Linked DNA regions of Homo sapiens: region 1 is linked to region 2. The links are contacts of gene promoters, found by promoter capture Hi-C in human tissues and cell types (Jung and others, 2019). All regions are on one chromosome and are shown on one strand. Each heading gives the region's core, a stretch centred on a gene start or on the middle of the fragment in contact. The rest is flanking DNA. Distances are from core to core; before and after follow the strand shown. Region 1 overlaps CENPP (centromere protein P). Region 2 holds the start of OGN (osteoglycin).

Evidence for each region. Contacts are between HindIII fragments. The study calls those that stand out against the background at their distance.
Region 1: a fragment that was not itself captured here is called in contact with the fragment with the promoter of OGN in region 2 in 1 of the 25 tissues and cell types used here (aorta).

The regions. Positions count from the first base shown.
Region 1 is chr9:92,436,991-92,441,450 of GRCh38, forward strand. All of the region lies in intron 5 of CENPP (centromere protein P), which reads left to right. Among named protein-coding and RNA genes, the nearest start is that of OMD, 15 kb to the left of the region's middle. The HindIII fragment of the contact is 4,423 bases long and covers 1-3,462 here.
Region 2 is chr9:92,402,409-92,408,060 of GRCh38, forward strand. It overlaps OGN (osteoglycin), which reads right to left and starts at 2,170. Exons shown (of 7, transcript NM_014057.5): 1 at 2,088-2,170; 2 at 826-1,074. The coding sequence starts at 999. The region is part of intron 5 of CENPP (centromere protein P); the gene reads left to right. The HindIII fragment of the contact is 4,115 bases long and covers 1-3,906 here.

The sequences.
Region 1 (4,460 bases), core at 1-2,500, 34 kb after region 2:
GGAGTTTGAGACCAGCCTGGCCAACATGATGAAACCCCATCTCTGCTAAAAATACAAAAAAATTAGCCGGGCATGGTGGCAGGTGCCTGTAATCCCAGCTACTTAGGAGGCTGTGGCAGGAGAATCGCTCAAACCCAGGGGTCGGAGGTTGCAGTGAGCAGAGCTCACACCATTGCAATCCAGCCTGGGCAACAAGAGCGAAACTCTGTCTCAAAAATAAATAAATAAATCTTGCTGGGATTTTGGTAGGAATTACATTAAAACTGTATATCAATTTGCCTTTTTTTAATTGGGTTTTTGTCTTATTACACATTGTAAGGGTTCTTTGTATATTCTGGATATAAGTCCTTTATCAAATATATAGCTTGTAATATTTTTCTTCTAGTGTATGATTAGTCTTTTTCTTTTGTCTTTTTTTTTGTTTTGTTTTTTTTTTTTGGACAGAGTCTCGCTATGTTGCCCAGGCTGGAGTGCAGTAGTAGGTTCTTGGTTCACTGAAGCTTCTGCCTCCTGGGCTCAAGTAATCCTCCCACCTCAGCTTCCCGAGTAGCTGAGACCACAGGCATATGCCAACACACCCAGCTAATTTTTGTATTTTTTGTAGAGACAGGGTTTCGCCATGTTGCCCAAGCTGATCTTGAATTCCTGGGCTTAAGCGATCCACTCTGCTTCCCAAAGTGTTGGGATTACAGGCATGAGCCATTGTGCCTAGGCTTTTCATCTTCTTAATAGCCTTTTGGCACATAAATATTAATTTTGTAAAGTCCAATTTATAAGTTATTTTTTGGAGACACTGTCTCACTCTGTTGCCCAGGCTGGAGTGCAGTGGCTCAATCACAACTTACTGCAACTTTAACCTTCCAGGCTCAAGTGATCCTCCCACCTCAGCCTCCAGTGATCCTCCCACCTCAGCCTCCAGTGATCCTCCCTCCTCAGCATCTCGAGTAGCTGAGACCACAGGCATGTGCCTCCACACCTGGCTAATTTTTTTATTGTTTGTAGAGATGAGGTCTCCCTGTGTTGCCCAGGCTGGTCTTGAACTCCTAGGCTCAAGTGATCCTCCCACCTCAGCTACCCATAGTGCTGGGATTACAGATGTCAGCCACTGCACTGGGACCAATTTATGATTTTTTATCTTTTATTTTTCATGCTTTTGGTGTCAAGTCTAAGAACTCTTTGCCTCAGGTCTTAAATATTTTTTCCTGTTTCTTCCAGAAGTTTTATAAGTTTTATCTCTTATATTTAGGTCTATGATCTGTTTTGATTTAATTTTTGTGTGTGGTGTGAGGTTAGGATCTAAGTTCACTTTTTTGCATGTGAATATCCAATTGTCTCAGCACCATTTGTTGAAAGGACAGTTATTTCTCCATTGTCAAAAATTAGTTAACCATAAATGTGCAGGTTTGTTTCTGATCCTCAGTTCTGTTCTATTGCTCTATGTGTCTGCCTTATACCAGTGTCATGCCCTCCTTATTAGGGTAGTTTTACAGTAAGTTCTGCCATTGGAGAGTATACATCCTCTAACTTTGTTGTTCTTTTTCCAAATTGTTTTCACTGTTGTAAGTCCTTTGCATTTTCATATAATTTTTGAGATTGGTGTGTCTACATCTACCATTATTAAGATTTCATAATGATTGAGTGCTTAGTATTTAAACATTGCATTTAAACTGCTTCATTTTTGACTGGGTGTGGTGGTTCTTGCCTGGAATCCCAGCACTTTGGGAGGCCAAGGCAGGTGGATCACTTGAGGTCAGGAGTTCGAGGCCAGCCTGGCCAACATGGTGAAACCCCGTCACTACTAAAAATACAAAAATTAACCAGGCATGGTGGCATGTGCCTGTAATCCCAGCTGCTTGGGAGGCTGAGGCAGGAGAATCTCCTGAACCTGGGAGGCAGAGGTTGCAAAGCTGAGGTTGCATTACTGCACTCCAGCCTGTGTGACAGAGCGAGACTCCATCTCAGTCAATCAATCGGTCAATCAATAAACTGCTTCATTTGTTATTGCTACGTGGTATGGCCTTAGTAAATGCTTGGTGCTGTTCTTTTGTTCTTATTAAGATTTTCCAGTATGGGGAAGTGACTTAGATTTTTTTGCATATGAAGCACAATTCTGTTTGTCCGTTTTCAAGTATTTCATCTTTTTGTTTTCCCAAGTATTTTTATTAGATCGTGTGTTATTATTTTTGCTTCTAGTTAGAAGTTATTGGCTAAATTTTAAAAATATAATAATAGTGGCTTAAGACTATTTTAAAGTAGACCTGGCTTTCTTGTCTTTATTTTCAGACTTCCATAGCTTATTAGAATAAGACTGCCCTCCCATGGTGAAAATTAGGTAATTTTTTTCAGTAAATTTAATGGGCTTATTTTTGGAAAAAATAATTTAAAATATATATATTTTTAAAATATGTGGGAAATAAGTGATAAGCTATTCTGTGTTTCCAAATAAACAGAGATTGTAGAATCCTCCCCAGCCCCCACTAGCTATAGAGTCACAGTGGCTGACCAGCATGGGAGGCCCTGGCCACAGCTTTTCATGAGTTGGTGGTCTTAAGTCACCTGTCTCTCTGGAGAATCAGTTTTATAATCTTAAAATGAAGAGGTTTCAATGAGGCTGCTCCACATCTAAACTTGTGTGGCTCCTTTGTCTTTCTATGCCACCTTCTCTTTGTCTTCCTATTATTTTATGGGATATCGCTTTATATCTAGTCCTCTTTCTCAATCCCATGTTAAAATTCTTGGAATGCTCTTGAGTCTTATTGGTCTGATCCCCTCTATATTTTCTGTAGAATTATGTAATATTACTACAAGTACCATTTGGGTGAAAGGAACTCTTTGATCTTCAAAGTAGTGAAATGATTCTAAGTATGGATAAGAGTGGTGAATATAGAGACCTAGGAACCAGAATTTCTGTTACTTATGTTTATTCAAGTTAATATTTACAGTGGCCTCCCCTTATCCACAGTTTTGCTTTCCCCCATTTGAGTTACCCATGGTCAACCATGGTCCAAAAATATTAAATGGAAAATTCCAGAAAGAAATAATTCATGTTTCAAATTACATGCTATTTTGAGTAGCCTGACGAAGTCCTGTGCTGTCCAGCTCTGTCTAGTCCAGGACATGAATCATCCCTGTGTGCAACATATCCACACTATATACACTCACCTCCCATTAGTCACTTAGGGTTATCAGATCACCTGTCATGGTATCCCAGCACTTACGTTGTAGTAAACCTTATGTCAAAGAGAATCTATAACGGGGTGCCTAGTCTTTTGGCTTCCCTGGGCCACATTGGAAGAAAAAGAATTGTCATGGGCCACACATAAAACACACTAACACTAGTGATAGCTGATGAGTTAAAATAAATAAATAAATAAATAAATAAATAAATAAATAAATCACAAGAAAACTCATCATGTTTTAAGAAAGCTTACGAATTTGTGTTGGGCCACATTCAAAGCCATCCTGGGCTACAGTGGGCCATGGCTGTGGGTTGGACAAGCTTGATCTATAAAGTGCTTCCCTTAAGTGAAAACTTTTCCCTTAGTAAAAGTTCTCAACTTAATAAGGAAAGAAAAAGAATGGTATGGTAAGAGTGCTAACATCTGTAGTAAGACCAAATCTCCTATCTGTAAAATTGTGAAGAAGGAAAAAGAAACTAGTTTAGTTTCCTGTTGCACCTCAAACTGCGAAAGTTATGACCACAATTAATGCATTATAAGTATTTAGTTAAGAGGGAAAAGGCATTAAATCTGTGAGTGGAAGACGTGAACAGAAATGTGTTTTGACTGACAACAATCAGGTTTTGTACTTGCTGTGGTTTCAGGCATCTACAGGGGATGTCTTGAAACATATCCCCCAAGGTAAAACCGAGACTATTGTTCAGTAAGTCCTCACTTAACATCGTCAATGGGTTCTTTGAAACTGCGACTTTAAGTGAAATGACATATAATGAAACCAATTTTACCATAGGCTAATTGTTATCAAACAAGTGTTAAGTTCCTGTGGCATATTTCTGGTTATAGAATCATCACCGAACTTCGTAATGAAGACCCAAAACACTTCTAATATTAAACATTGAAATAAATGTGAGCTATCTGTATGTTTAAGAAAACGTTAATAAAAAACAAGTGCATGAATTTTTGTATTTTATTAGTCATACTTTTGGATGTTACTTACATGGTATGTAACTACAGTGTTAAAATTAATCAAGCTACATATTTATCATCTATGTACTTTTCTATACATATATCAAACATCAATAGAAAGTTTATAAGAAGTCGACAGTATGGATTCAACTACTAATTTATAGGAAATGCAGACAGAGGAATATGTTAAAGTACACCACAAGTACGCAGTCAGCAAAATCTAGACTGTGGGAAATGCCTGTGAGACAAACAACTTGGTTTCTCCATCAAATAAAATGTAAGGAAGAAAAAAAGGGATGAAGGGGAAATGTATAG
Region 2 (5,652 bases), core at 920-3,419:
CTTCTGAAACAATCAGTATTGTTATATATTTGGCTGAATTTCTCATTTTCCAGTGTGTATGTGTATGTGTCATACATAGTGGGCAACAGATACTTAAGTGCTGTATTAACTTTTTCCTTACCCAGCATTCATTTCTGTGTGCCAAGAAAACCACAAGTAATTAGTTTGCCCATAAAGGTGGGGAATGAATGATGTGGTATAACGTCACCCTTGCAGTGTTAACTCAAAGACAGTTACAGTTACTTGGTACCAATTGATAGAGGGTCTAAACTGTTAAAATTGATTTAAAAAGAAAGTCCTATATTGACTAGGTTTTCAGTTTTTGGTACTGTATGTAGATGGCATATATAAATTATTGTGGAATGCTATTGATATCAAAATAACCAGTACTCTTCTATGTATTTTCTTCAAATTGTTTTCTATAATAATAACCTTAAGCTGATAATTCATCTTTATTTCTCCAAATACACATTTCCGCTAATTTATTTTTGAGGCAACACAACATTGCAAGTATAGGGCATTGTGTAACATTACTTAATATATAAATTGCAACTGGTGAGGGATCATCTTAAAGTCTAGTTTTCTTTAAGTTTTATTTTTTGGTTACTATAGATACTGTTTGGTTACCATAGATACCATTTATTAATTTGGAAAGCATACATACTCTAAAAATACAATCTTAGGGACAATTATTATGAATTCGTTTGAATCATTTAAAGTGATTTTCCCTTCCCCTTACCTTATCAGACACATTCAGGAAAAGCAAAAACATGCATTTAAATGGGCAGTATTTTAGAAGCTAAATTTAGAATAGAAATAAAGTACCTTAATATTTTTTCCATCCAGGTATTTATCCTCATAATCTTGGCTAAATATGGATTCTTCAAAATTATCTGTTCCATAATCATAGATAATGCGTGAGTCCTGCTGGGTTGGTGGTGCTGGCTTTATCAGAGGCACAAGCAGTAACAGGAGAAGTGTAGACTGCAGAGTCTTCATTTTAGCAAAAATCAAGGTGACTGGAAGTTAATAAACTAGTGGCCTGCTGACTGTGGGACAAAACTCTCTTTTTCCCTGGAAATAAAAATTCAGACCATCGAAGCAATATTTAAAAGCTTAGAGGATGTTTTGGCAGGGTGTGCGCAGTAAGGGCCAGAGAACAGTATTTAACCCTTAGTGATCTTTAATTAGATGCTAGCAGTTTTTATGTATCAGTGAACATTCTGAAAAATAGTTTTGGAAAATAGTTTTACTTCTCTATCAGAAATTCAAGAAAGATTGATAATTTTAAGTTTCTTAATAATTAAGTGCCTTCAGCAGACATACTAATATTTAATTGAAATATTCTTAGGATACCTGTAGTATAAATAGTTAAAATAAAGTCCCAAGATCCTGTCTCATGTGAGTTAAAAATATCATATTTCCACTTAGCTACTTTATAAGAACTCTTGATTTATATTGGTATGAACAGAAACAAGTTCCAAGAAAAGTTTTAAAACTTAAATTTAACATTATGAAAAGTAGTCATTAACACCTTTAGGTGGTACAGAATATAGGAAAAGCCATACGTTTTTAATTTTCTTAGTTTTGTAATTTTAATAGGTGATCATAATTTTTAGTTAATAGTATTGTATTTTTAATTTAAGCTAAGAAAACTGAAAGAATAGTATTGCAGGCTAGAGGAAATACCGAACTTTAATCAAAGAACTTTGAGGAATGTAATAGAAAGGATTCCTTTAGGCTCATCAATGGATTTTCTCTGGTGGGTACACATTTCAGACTTTTTCTTAAGTAACTTCAAACAGAATCACTCAAGAGTTGCTGATGCTGCATTATAGATGCCAGTTTGTCAAAAATCCAGAGGTTGAAAATGAAGAAGATAATGGATTTGTGACTTCTGCAGCACCCTATTCTTGCCTGCGTGGATGTTAAATTTATGCGATGATATACATAAGTACTTCTTAAAAATTAATTGAGGTAACTGAAACTTAAACCAGAGATGGCCTTTACATTTATTAAGACTATTAGATGAGTCAGTCGCACTTTAACAAACAATATTTAAAATAATATATGAAAAGTAAGCCTACCGTTGTAGCTGTTTTGAAGTTTTTTGTGGTTTTCCTCAATAGATGTTCATGTCTGTGCATTAGCCCCAAGTGGGAGGGTGAATGAGAAAAGCTATGTCTTGATTTCAAACTGCTGAGTAAAATTTCAGGGCCCAGCAGCTTTAAGAACAGTTTCCATGTGGTAGAGATCTTTGCCAGCATTCTTTCTCTAGGGTGAAATGCAGTGTGTTGTACTAGAGAACTGTGCTTAAGTTATTTGTTGTAACTGCTGCACTCAGTCTGCTTCAACTAATTTGACTATAAACTTGTGTGATTTTATTATTGTGTAATAAACATTCATGTTTTGGTGAATATTAGTTTATGAAAAATGATATAGTTTTAAAGTCATCCTTTTCATTTTGGTGATTTCCCAGGAGATCAAACAATCTGCTTTTTGAATGAAATAGGACACCAAATGACAACATAGTCCATGTTGTTAATTTTATGAGGATTAAAAATATTGCCCTAATACCATAATTAATATATAGCCAGTGTAATATATTTTTCCAGTGTAAAAATTAGTTTTAGCACAAATTATTTGATAGTTTTGTCATTTGGATTTTTTCTCCCCTTTATTTTAGTTACATATAAGAAAAACTGATGCATAAAAATTAGCTTTTTAAAAGTAAATTTGATTTATAGTTTTTGAGGTTGATAGTAAAAGATACTTTTGTTTGCTGAATGAAGGAAACTTTATAAAATTACTTTAATATTGAAATTGGCTTTTAAAAATTAAAGTGGCATTGTAGATACCATACAAGCAACTTTGAAGATTTTTTTAAAGAGTCACTTTTAAAAAATTCCTCCTTGGTGCTTTTACCAATCAAATTAACTTTTCTCCTTTAAGCTAAAAATTTAACAAATATGGATATATATTTTATTAAAATAGAAAATGAAAGAATAACAATTTGTTTTCTTTTCTAGACAAAATTGTTTTAGAACCTTTCAAATCAAAGCTTAAATAAACTAAGACTTGAGCACTGAAGTTTTTATTTGAATGTGAATTATCTTAAATTTAATTGTGATATTGTCTGGCTTGAGTTGATATAAATTGTTGGTTTTATGGCTTCAAGGATACAGTAAAACTTTTTTAAATACTTTGAAATATATAATAATGAAACAACAGACATTGATTTGTTTTGTATTGTGTGGCAAGTTAACAAGATATTGAGAAGTAAGCTGGATAGATACCATATGTCCAAATTTAGAGAATCTTAGAGATTCATAGTTTCATTAATGGTACACTTTGATGCTTTGTACTACAGAAAATTATTTTGTGAAGAACAACTTTCCTTGAAAAGTTATGACCAGTGAATACAATGTTATTAGCATTCACTCATTTAATAAAAGTTTATTGAGCGCCAATTCTGTGCCAGGACTTCAGACACGTAAGCTCAGATAAGCAAACTTCAGTTTCTTCCCTCAAGGAAGATTTATAGCCTCTAAGTCAGCAGGAAAAGCAGCAAACAAGCAACTAGAATCCATGGTAGGGCTTGCTACACAGAAATATGCAGAGTTCTGTGATAACCTGGGAGAAGCCACAAACTGACTGGGAGTCAAGGAGACTGCACCCAAACTGACTTCTATAGAGAGGATAGGAGAGGAGGGTAAGCGCAGGTGATGAGGTATTCTAGGCAAGGGGATCATCACGTGCTCCCCTTAGGGAGGGGATGGGGGTAGATCATTCAGAAAATTTATAATTTGTTTTGCATACTGCTGGAGCTTGGAGGGAGAGAGAGAAGAAGTCAGGGGGATGGACCATATTAAGAGATGCGACTAGACAGGGGGAATAGAGGTTGGATTAAAGAAAGTATTTTATATCCTGCTAAAGTATTTGGGCTTTAGTCTGTAGTCAGTGAGAGACCATGTAGAGATTTTTAAGCCAGTGATGGCTTAAATATGATCCTGTTTGCATTTTAGAAACATTCCTCTAATGTTGCATTGCTGAAGAATACCACTGTTCATCTATTGTAGTGGTTATCTATTACTGTGTAAAAAACTACCACAAAGGAATGGCTTAGTTAAAATAACACACATTTATTATCTCACAGTTTCTGTGGGTCAGGAATTTGGCGTGTCTTTGCTTGATGGTCTGCTTCAGGATCTGCATTTGAAGTGCATCTGGCACTGCAGCCTCACTTCAGGGGTTGAGTAGGGAATGATCCAGTTCTAAGCCCATGTGGTTGTTGACAGCATTCAGTTCCTTGCAGAATGTGAAACTGTGGACGTAAGTTTCTTGCTAGCTGTTGACTGACGGCCTCCCTCAGTTCCTTGCCATGTGACTTCCTCAAAAGGGCAGCTCACAACATTGCAGCCTGCTTCTTCACAGCTAGAGGAGGAAATAGTCTTCTGGCAAGATGGGTATTACCCGCACTTCTGATACCAACAGCAATTTCAGGAGATTCCTAGAACCACTCTTATTACATTTGATAATTCCCTAGAAGAACTCTCAGAACTCACTGAAGACCATTATACTCATGATTATGGTTTATATAGAAAAAGGATACACCCTAAAATCAGCCAAAGGGGGAGATGCGTAGGGGCAGTGTCTAGAAGGCTCCAGACTTGAAACTTCCATTGTTCTCTGGATGCATTGCCTTACGTTGATATGTGGCAGTGTATGTGGGGTATTGCCAACCAGGCAAGCTTATTCTCAGTGTTCAGAGTTTTTATTGGGGCTTTATTAATAGGTTTGATTGATTGATTGATTGAATTCAGCCTCCTGGTCCACTGATACTACATAACCCAAATCCCTTATCCTACATCACGTGGTTGGTCTTCCTGGCATAGCCACCTCTACCTCAAGACTATCAGGTGTGGCTGATCTCACCCTAAACAAAAACACTCCTATCAGAAATAACATAGATCACCTCTCAGAAGCCAAGGCAAAGCCCAGACCTCTCTTTAGGCAAAGCCAAAATCTTTACTACACAGTACTCAATATAAAATGCTTGAAACTGAGGTGATTTTCTATTCCAGAAAGAATTGAATGCTGATAGAAAGCTATTTAGCTTTTACTCTACAGGAGTAAAAGATGAAAGCTGTCTCATGCTCAAGAGCAGGCATTGTATCCAAAGATGAAAGAGTCTTCTTTGTGGAATTCTTTTTATGAAGGCAAGGTCTTGCTCTGTCACCCAAGCTGGAGTGCAGTGGCACGATCATGACTCTCTGCAGCCTCAACTTTGTGGGCCCAAATGATCCTCCCACTTCAACCTTCTGAGTAGCTGGGACTACAGGCATGCACCACCATGCCTGGCTAATTAAAAAAATTAAAAGAATTGTAGAGACGGGGTCCTCTTATGTTACCCAGGCTGGTCTCGAACTTTTGACCTAAAGTGATCCACCTTGGCCTCTGTGGAGTTCTTTTAGGTGACCCTATTGTATTATCTTTGGTGCCTTATAGGGGTTTTATTTCCTCAAAAGTGTACCATTTGTCTGTTGGCAACCAAAAAAATGTGTTGAATGGAATGGAATTTTGGAAACAAGAGCTTCCAGGGAAAAAGTATTTTTGGGGAGTGGCTTAATTCTGATAGAGACCATATGACCT